Regions from separate parts of the Homo sapiens genome. Here region 1 is linked to region 2. The links are contacts of gene promoters, found by promoter capture Hi-C in blood cells and fetal thymus (Javierre and others, 2016). All regions are on one chromosome and are shown on one strand. Each heading gives the region's core, a stretch centred on a gene start or on the middle of the fragment in contact. The rest is flanking DNA. Distances are from core to core; before and after follow the strand shown. Region 1 overlaps CAPZB (capping actin protein of muscle Z-line subunit beta). Region 2 holds the start of HTR6 (5-hydroxytryptamine receptor 6).

Region 1 (4,649 bases), core at 374-2,873, 260 kb after region 2:
GCTCTGCATACAGAGTAGTCTTGCCAAAATGCACTTCGGATAATGTCCCTTAATGACTCCACATTGTCGGGATCAAGCCCGGAGAACACATCTAGGTGGAAGAGCTCTTGATCTGGCCCTGCCCCTTCCTCCTGTCTCCTTGTCTTGCACACTCCCAGGCCTGTGCCCTGTCTTGTTGCATCTTTGTACATGCCGTTTCCTTGACTGGGACACATGTCCACACCAACTCTGCTCCCTCTAACTGCTCATCTTCCCATCTCCGCTGGAGCCTCACTTCCCTCACCCTGCCCCCCAGCATGCCCCTTGCTTCTCCTGTCTCTTGGACTTGCTCCATCCTAGGAGCTTTGGCTCTTGGAGGGCAGGGATCTTTTCTTTTGTTCACCTTTGTATCCCCACTGTCAAGCCTGAAGCGGACATTCAGTGAGTGCATGCCTACTTGAGCCCCCATGAATGCAAGGCCCTGCCTAAGCTGAAGCACCAGGGTCAGAGTGACAACAGAATAGTTGTGTCTTTAAAGAGCTCATAGCCACGGTGGGAGCCAGATAACCCAGGATGGATAGAATGCAAGGCTTCTTTTTTTTTGTTTTGTTTTAGAGATGGAGTTTTGTTCTTGTTGCCCAGGCTGGAGTGTGATGGCACAATCTTGGCTCACTGCAACCTCTGCCTCCCTGGTTCAAGCAATTCTCCTGCCTCAGCCTCCCAAGTAGCTGGGATTACAGGTGCCTGCCACCACCCCCAGCTAATTTTTTGTATTTTTAGTAGAGATGGAGTTTCACCATGTTGGCCATGCTGGTCTCGAACTCCTGACCTCAGGTGATCTACCCGCCTCGGCCTTCCAAAGTGCTGGGATTACAGAGGTGAGCCACCGCTCCCAGCCAGAATGCAAGGCTTCTGATGTGAGGAACATGGGCACTGCAGAGCACCACAGAGGACACCGTGGCCCACCCTTGGCAGGCAAATCCCAGGGAAAGCTTAGAGTGGGCAGAGCCTGAGATACAGCTGGTGGGTGGTGGGAAGGTACTAGCTGGGCAGGGACTGAGCAGGAGCAGCTGGGTTTCTGCCTGATTAGATAGAGCGTGTGAATTGGTGTCTAGTGAGCTTTGAGTTTTGATTCAGGCCACATGGGTCCCTTACCAGAAAGCAGGTGATGGGCGCACACTCTGGTTTTGCTGAGGATCAGCTGTTAGCTCCCACTCAGACTTTCTAGATGGGTAAGGGACAGAGATCAGCAGGTTCCCTGCAATTTTAAGATCGTAACTGAGAAATGTGCCCTTGTAAGCCTGTTGATCCAAGAGCCTGCCTGCCTCTAGAAAAGCCCACATCAGTCCTTTCCTAGGAGGCAGTGGCCTTGTTGCCTCTGTTGAGACAAAGTTCTTTATTGACCTCACAGGGAGCTGGGACTTTCTGAATCAGACCATTCAGGTGTTCTCTCAGTTCCTGTTGATTCCTTCGCAGCCCTGGTGGGAACAGCTGCTGCTCTTGAGGGAACCTAAAGTAAACTCCTGGCTTGCCATTTTCCTGAACTCGTAGATTTTGGCAGAGGAGAAGGGTGGAGAGTCCAGGCCTTTGTTCCTGATCCTGTCACCCTTATGAGTTAAGATTTGGCAACCCTTCTCATAACTGCTGGGGGCATAGGGTATCCTCAAAAGTAGAGTTAAATTACTGGTTTAAAGAGTCTGTGCTCCAAACTCCAGTGAACTTCATGATACAGAAAGCAAAGAATTGAAGGGTATTAGCTGTTTGGGGAAAACCACTGCTCCCACCACCTGGAAGCCAAATAAGCAGATGTCCCCTCTGGGTGGAGCAGGGGGCCAACATCACTTTCTTATGTTATTATAGGTCGTCAGCCTATGTGTAGGCCATTTCAGTCTCATTGGAAATACCTGGAAAAATGCCTGGACTTGGAAAAATGCAAACAAAAAACACAGCACGTAGCTCTAAAGGGGTTGTTTAGTCCTCCCCTGAATTCTGTTTCTGCCTTAAAACACCAGAAGAGCTTTGGCTGTGTGCCATCTGCAGGAAGCACCCTAGGAAGGAGAGGATCCACCCTGGCTTCTCCCAGGCTAGGTGGTCCTTCGTTTTTCACCTTTTTAAAAGGCTCACCTGAGGCTGCTGAAAAGGTGGCAAAAGACAGGACTGCATGCTTCATTCCCAGCAAGAGTGTCAGGCAAAATTCGAACTCCTTGATCACCCATTGGTTTCCACATTCTTTCCATTCCGGAGACCAAGGGGAGATTTGCCGATGCTGATGCTCCCTGGGCTTTGCAAAGCTTTCCCTAATTAAAGTCCTCCCGGCTGTGTGCATAGCTCTTCTGCTGCAAATCTTTGCCCTTTTGTGTTTGTGTTTAAAATTCCATCTTTCCAAAATGTTTGCCCACTCAGCAAGTCTCCTTGAAAGCCCTCACTTTTGTTTGGGGGAAGTTTTTTTTTTTTCCTTTTTGGTTTTTATTCTGCCTATGTGTAGGAAATTTAAGTCTCTTAGGAATTGCTTGTGAAAATGCTCTCTGGTCTTTTTTTAAACCATGATGAGTGTCTCTCACCATGGCATTGGAAGCTGGCAAGGGATGCCCCTGGTGTCCGTGCTGTTAGCTGCCACTTGAGCTTTTAGATGGAGCTACTGGAGTATCATTTTGGTTCCATTCTAAGGAAAATGAACAAAAGAGCTTTTCCCTCCTGTTCAATGTGCAACAGTGCTACAAGGTGAGAGAAGTATGTTAGCGAGGAATCTGAACCAGGTCAGGATCGGGGCAAGGTGGTAGGAGGCTGAGCTCTCCAGTGGTGAAAAAGATGGCTCTTGTCACCTAGAGCCAGGAGGCATAATTCAAGTGAAGTGCATATAGGCCCGTTCCTTGGCCTTGTCCTCATAGGATTTTTTTTCCTACAAGATCTATCCAGGTCCTTCATTTGGGGAACCTTATGGACTCCTGTTGTTGTTGGAAGCCGGAGAACAGTGTTTGGAGAGCTTCCATTGAGGATGGTCTGAAGACTCTCACTTTAAGTTAGATCCTGCCCTCTGGTTGATGAGAAATGTGAGACGTAAAAGTGAATTGGAGAGAGATCCCACTTCCCCACGTGCCAGAAAAGGCAGACAACAACTCCCTCCTCAGAGCTGTTAGAAAGCCAACATCTCGCGGTTGGCAGGCACTGGCCCTGGATGAGGAATTCCTGGGTCGCCCCCCTTAGAACATGTCTGGTTTTGGAAACAGGTTAAAAATACTTGAGGAGGGCATGGCACGCTCAGTCTGCTTCCCTGATGTTTGAAATAGGCCAGGAATGTGGGCCGGGAAGCCCAGAGGAGCCTGCGTGTCCCGCAGGGTTTTGTAGTTGGAGCCTGGGGTTTCTCCTCTCCATCATCACCCCCTTTAACTGCCAGTGACCACATGCCAGATTCATGAAGGGCACACTGAAATTGACGAAGACCTGTGCCATGGGTAGCGGGAAAAACTGGGCTCCCTTTAGTAAGCAGGATGGTGTTGAGGTCTCGGAGGCAGGCAAGGGGTGGGCTCGGAATCTCTCCTGGAAGAGAAAAGAGAAGGGAATTTGGATTCTGTATACAAATATAGAAATTCCCTAAGAGTTTAAATTTGAACATGGCATTCAGGGGAGAAGATTATGGGTTCCAAGCCTTTTCCTTCTTCCCCTTCTTGTGAATAACTCACTCAGCTGCTTGCATCTGTGTCCTAAGGCTGTGAACCGAAGAGCTGGGCAGTCCACAGTTGGTTTGAGCCTCAGAGTACCTTGCTTAGTAAAGGTTTGTTTTAGGAGGGATGACACAAACTTTTGAGTAACTCTCAAGTCTTGAACTATGAAACTTCGTAGGATGTCAACACTAAAATGAACCTTACCGATTATCTCATCTAGTGGTTTTCAAACATTTGGAAAATTGGTACAGCCCTTTTTTTAAGCAAAATCTTAGAACTTGAATAAACCAGGTAGAAGGTGGTAGGCCCAGACTTCCTCTCCCACTCTTGACACCCTGAGCTCCTCCCTCTGTACTCACAGCCCTCAAAGTGCTCCTCTCTCAGAGAACCATCCATTGCAGAGACCAGGGAGCTGTGGCCCATGCCCCATGTAGCACCGTTTCATGGCAGAACCAGCTCTGACTTCCAGGCCAGTGGCAAGTCCCTGCAGTACCTTGGTTTATTTTGATGTAGGAAAAGCTCTGGGTAGTAAGAGTGAAGAGTCAAACAGCTACGACTGAGAGTGAGGAGAAAGACAACACTGCCCATGGTTCCTGACACCCAGGGTCACTTTTTACCAACCTAACTCTGGGTCACATGACGTACTCGTATTCTGAAACTGTTGGTTTCCTGGATGTCTACCTGTGATGTCTTGGATCCATGTGGTTCTCTCTGCCTAAAATATCCTCTCTTGATTCACCTTCTTAACAACAGCTTTCTGGAGATATAATTCACATAACATAACATTTACACTTTTAAAGTGTACGGTCCAATGGTTTTTAGCACACGCAAGAGTTGTGCAGCTAGCTGGGCATGGTGGCTCATGCCTGTAATCCCAGCACTTCGGGAGGGCAAGACAGGCGGATCACTTGAGTCCAGGAGTTCAAGACCAGCCTGACCAACATGGTGAAACCCTGTCTCTACTAAAAAATAAAAAAATTAGCCAAGCATGGTGGCAAGCACCTGTAG
Region 2 (5,205 bases), core at 1,091-3,590:
CCAGGCACAGGGAACAGCAAGTGCAAAGACCTGGGCACAGAAGTAAGCCCAGTGCCTTCTAGAACCGTGAGAAAGGCCACAAGGCTGTTGCAGAGTAAGAGAGAGGGAGAGGGGAGGTGACACTGGAGAGGATGGCAGTGTGGGATCCTGAGGCCAGATCCTGAGACAGGTTTTCTTTATCTGGAGCACGGTGGGAAGCCTGAAGAGTCTGAAGCAGGGGAGTGACATGATCACTTCTTTTTTAAGTGCTCCAGCTTCTATGCAGAAGATGGAGAGTACTGGGTCTGCGGCAGAAGCAGGGGAGCCAGGAGAAGTCTACACAGCCTCCCCGGTAGGAAGTGGCAGGGGAGATGGCACCTGTTTAGAGCAGCGCCAACAGGTCTCGCTAATGAATGGCATGAGGGTGAGGGAGAAAAGTATTCCTAAGTTCCTGGCATGTGATGCCGCAATGGTGCCATTTGCCATGATGGGGAAGACCAGGGAGGCAAAGATGGGGAGAGTTGGGCCACCATAAATTCCCTGTTGTACATGGTACCTGGGAGAAGCCTGCCCCCAAATCCTGACGGAGCTATCCTGTGGTGGGTGGGTCAGGCATTGGCTCTGGAGTTCAGAAGAAAGGTGGGCGCTCACAACAGCCACGCAGGGCCATGAGCAAATGTGTGCTAAGTGGGGATGCCCAGGGGGTCCCCAGGGGCTGCTCATTCCTCTCTATCCCACAGCCCGGGTCTCCCTGCGCACCCCAGGTACCTGCAGCGTCTCCGAGGCCTGACTGGCCATGCCGGTGGTGAGGGAGGCCACCTGCACGGCCTGCTTGCGGGCAGCTAGCAGGATCCTGCAGTAGGTGAAGCATATGGCACCCGAGGGCAGGAAGAAGGTGAGGCCCGACGCCACAAGGACAAAAGGCAGGCTGGCCAGCAGGCGGCACTGGCCAGGGACGGGTGGCCGTGCGTGGCCCAGCTCGTGCCAGCCCAGCAGCAGGGGCAGGAAGGAGGCGAGAGCGGCGAGGCTCCAGGCGCCCAGGACTAGGGCCAGGGCACGCAGGGGCGTCATGCGCAGCTTGTAGCGCAGCGGCGAGAGGATGAGCAGGTAGCGGTCCAGGCTGATGAGGCAGAGGTTGAGGATGGAGGCGCTGCAGCACATCACGTCGAAGGCGGTCCAGAGCAGGCAGAGGCCGCGCGCCAGCACCCAGCGCCCGTACAGCGCGTTCAGCATGGCCGGCGGCATCACCACCAGCCCCACCATCAGGTCAGACGTGAAGAGCGACACCAGGAAGAAGTTGGACGTGTTGCGCAGCGCGGGCTGAGTGCAGATGAGCGCGATCAGCAGCGAGTTGGCCGCCGCCGTCAGCGCGATGACCACGCACAGCGCGGCCGCCACCCAGCCGCTGCCCCCCGGGGCCGACGGCGGCCCTGCCCCCCAGGCCGGGGTGCTATTGGCGGTTGGGCCCGGCTCTGGGACCATGAGGACCGAGGGTGGACGGCAAGGGAGTGATAGGGTGGCGGGAAAGCAGATGAGGGCCCCGGCGAAGCGCAGGCTGGACGGGGACCGTCCGTGAGAACAGACCGCGACTCACCACGCCCCCCGGGGGAGGTGAGTGGGGGGACATGGGCGGGGGCGCTGGGTCGCGCTAGGTCAGGGGGCAGCGACTACAGGAGGACACAGTGTGGCTATTTGGGCGCCCTCGGGGATGGGGCAGGAACTCCTGGAGCAAACGGGTTGGAAGTTTGGGGAGGGGCACCCGATGAGCCGAGGCCCCTGAAGGAAGCGGCGGGAAGTCAAGCAGAGGTCGGATGGGCTCCCTGGGGTGGGAGCAGAGCCCCCTGGAGGGGGCGGGCGGCAAGATAGGGGAGGGGCGTCCGGCCGGGTCAGAGTGCGGGGAAGTGGGAACGCGGGGAGGTGGGTGAGGGGGGTGAATGGGCGCTCTCGGGCCGGAGCAGGCTCCCCGCGGCCGGTGGGCGTGTGGGGTACCAGGGCGGGGGCCTAGGGGCCGGAGCAAAGCCGCCCCTGGGAAAGGCAGGTCTCAGCTGGCGCGGAGGCACCGGGATCCGGCGCACACGGCCTGTGCGGCGCGGGGGTTCGCCGGGGCCGCCAGGCCCCGCGGGAAGAGGAGGGCAGCGGCCGCGCGGCGCCCCCTCCCCACCCGGCAGCAGGGTCGCCTCCGTCTCCCGCCCGCACTGGTACCTGGGGCGCTCTGGCTGCTCCGCCGCCTGCGACTGCGGCAAGCGCCGCGGGGCTGCGAGAGGAAGAGGCGGCCGCGGGCCGGGCGGGCGGCGGGACCGGGTCTCCCGAGCCCGGGAGGCGCCGCGAGGGGCCCGCACGCGCGGAGGAGAGGCCGGGTGCAGCCTGGAGCGCGCGGTCCCCGCGCCGCGGAGCGTGCGCCCCGCCTCGCGGTGGGCGGGGAGAGCCGAGCCCTGGCCCTGCAGGAGGGCGGGGTCCCGGCACCCCGGGCCTGTGGGCCGAAGATCAGAGCGCCCCAGCTGCGAGGGGTCACCTCCCGGGCTGTGGCAGCCCCCACACCCTCAGATGCCCCTCCCAACCCACACGTGGCGGCGGCGCAGGCGGAACTGGGAGCAGGGGGCTGTGACCTGCCCTTATCCAGGGGCTGCTCTCTAATGGGTGCCTGCCCACTCACAACGGGGTCACCGGGCTTTCAGGGGAGCCAGGAGTTGGGAAATATTGGACAAATCGCCTGACACCCCTCTGGGCCTCAGTTGCCATATCTGTAAAATGGGTTAGTAATTCTGGGCATTCTTCACCGTTAGTTTGAGCAAGAAGCTAACCTTCCCCAGGGCCTTTCCCGCAGAAACCATCCCGATCCCCAAAGGGGCCAGGTACTAAGGATGAAGTCCCTGAGCTGTTGGCGCTCCTAGTCTAACAGAGCGTGAACAGATTTGAGAATCCCCAGGCCAGGTGTGTTAAGAGTCGCTGCAGGCAGAGGCGTGGGGTGTGGTTTCCCCTGGGTGTGACCTCCCTCTGTACGTCTCCCCTCTGGCTGAGAAGAGTCTCTGCCTAACACTGCTGTGCAGGTTAATACTGTTATTCATTCATTCATTGAACAGATACTTCAATGCATCTTTTAAGGCGCATCCACTAGATGTCAGGCACTGTTCTGACCCATCAGGACACTACAGTGGCCAAAACAAAGATCCGCACCTCCATGGAGCTTACATTCTAGTGGAAGAAACAGACAATAAACAATAAGCATAATCAACAGAGAAAGTGGGCCCAGCGAGGTGGCTCACGCCTGTAATCCCAGCACTTTGGGAGGCGGAGGTGGGCAGATCACCTGAGGTCAGGAGTTCGAGACCAGCCTGACCAACATGGTAAAACCCCGTCTCTATCAAAAATACAAAAATTAGCTGGGCGTGGTGGCGGGAGCCTGTAATCCCAGCTATTCGGGAGGCTGAGGCAGGAGAATTGCTTGAACCTGGGAGGCAGAGGTTCCAGTGAGCCAAGATTGTGCCACTGCACACTCCAGCCTGGGTGACAGAGCAAGACTCTGTCAAAAAAAAAAAAAAAAAAAAAAAAAAAAAGGAAAGAAAGAAAGAGAGAAAGGAAAGAAAGAGAAAGAAAGAAGAGAAAGAGAAAAAGAAAATGTAGTATAAAGAGAACGGGGTGGGATCATTTTTTCTCCACAGAAACAGAAAAATAATACTTTCCAAATCGAAGGCTCCTGCGCTGTCCCCAGGGGCTTTGTTGTACGGTTCCTACTCCTCCAGTTATTTATTCCGACCCCTACAATAATGCTGAGAGGTAGACGTTAAACTGGGGTTCAGAGAGGCCAAGGGCCTTGCCCCAGATCACCAGCAGCAAGTGGTGAAGTGGACCTGAAACCCAGATCTGCTCGATGCCCATGGCAAAGAGAGCCCATTACAGATGGTCAAAAACCTCCCCTCAGGCACCTCAGAGCCTGCAGCACCCACCCGCCAACTCTAAGCTGCTATTTGGTGCTCAGAGCCCCAGCCTTGCCCACAGAAGCATCTTTTAAGCAGATAGAGGAGGCCTGTCCTTCCTCCTTGCCACCACACTGCACCACTGTGACGATTTCTGCCATGCCCCCAAGGAACAGAACGTAGTACAGCAAGCCTGGGCAGAGAGTCAGAAACACATGGCTTGGGATCCCCGCTCCATCCCAGCTCTGGGATTACAGGGCCAGTGGCTCCATCTCCTTGGGTCACAGCTTTCTCTTCTGTAATAGTTAGCAGAACAATATGGCACCCACCTCACAGAGTAGCTGAGGGGATTAAATGACACTGATGTAATCTGTGTCTTTGATACTATGTTAACACTAGCTGGCCGGGCACAGTGGCTCACGCCTGTAATCCCAACACTTTGGGAGGCCAAGGCGGGCAGATCACCTGAGGTCAGGAGTTCGAGACCAGCCTGGTCAATATGATGAAACCCCGTCTCTACTAAAAATACAAAATTAGCCAGGTGTAGTGATGCACGCCCATAATCCCAGCTACTCAGGAGGCTGAGGCAGGAGAATCACTTGAACCCACAAGGCAGAGGTTGCAGTGAGCTGAGATCACACCACTGCACTCTAGCCTGGGCAAAAACAGCGAAACTCCATCTAAAAAAAAAAAAAACAAAAAAACAAAAAAACAAAAAAAAAACCTAGCTCTTGGCTTTAGTGTTCCCATCAGCACAATCGTAATGCATTCAGCTCTGTGCTAACTCCTTGAGCCCAGGGATTTCTGACGTGAACAGCTGCAACCCTGAGAGGTGCTGTGTGGAAGGATTTTGGAGCCCAGCATCCTGGGTTCATCATCCAGAGTCTGCCACTTGCTCTGTGAAGTTGTGCAAAGCCTCTTAAATTCTCTGCTGCTATGAAACCAAGGCAGTGGAGCTGTGAATGAGATGAGTAAAAAATTTTGCCTGATAAATGTTGCTTTGTAAAAATCTGTAGGTAGTGCATAGAATATTAGTCTTTCTGCTTTCACTTTTCCCACAATACTTGATATCTTTTATTTTAAAAAAAAGACCTAAAGATTAGCTGAGCGTGGTGGTGCACGACTCTAGTTTCAGCTACTTGTGAGACTGAGGTGAGAGGATTGCTTGAGGCCAAGTGTTCAAGGCTGCAGTGAGCTATGATCACACGTGTGAATAGCCACTGAACTTCAGCCTCGGTGACAGTGTCTCAAACAAACAAACTAACTAAAGAAAACCTGGCAATAACTTTAACATTTGTTCATTCTGGGTGAT

What was found. Contacts are between HindIII fragments. The CHiCAGO score rates a contact against its expected background, and 5 or more counts as called.
Region 1: a contact is called between a fragment that was not itself captured here and the fragment with the promoter of HTR6 in region 2, in 7 of 17 cell types (naive CD4 T cells, total CD8 T cells, activated CD4 T cells and 4 more). The highest score is 8.1, in naive CD4 T cells.

Annotation. Positions count from the first base shown.
Region 1 is chr1:19,398,994-19,403,642 of GRCh38, reverse strand. The region is part of intron 2 of CAPZB (capping actin protein of muscle Z-line subunit beta); the gene reads left to right. Among named protein-coding and RNA genes, the nearest start is that of CAPZB, 84 kb to the left of the region's middle. RefSeq lists enhancers at 427-1,104, 1,783-2,462. The HindIII fragment of the contact is 1,299 bases long and covers 974-2,272 here.
Region 2 is chr1:19,662,010-19,667,214 of GRCh38, reverse strand. It overlaps HTR6 (5-hydroxytryptamine receptor 6), which reads right to left and starts at 2,340. Exons shown (of 3, transcript NM_000871.3): 1 at 748-2,340. The coding sequence starts at 1,461. RefSeq lists enhancers at 575-1,545, 1,546-2,518 and a silencer at 2,297-2,526. The HindIII fragment of the contact is 8,359 bases long and covers 1-5,205 here.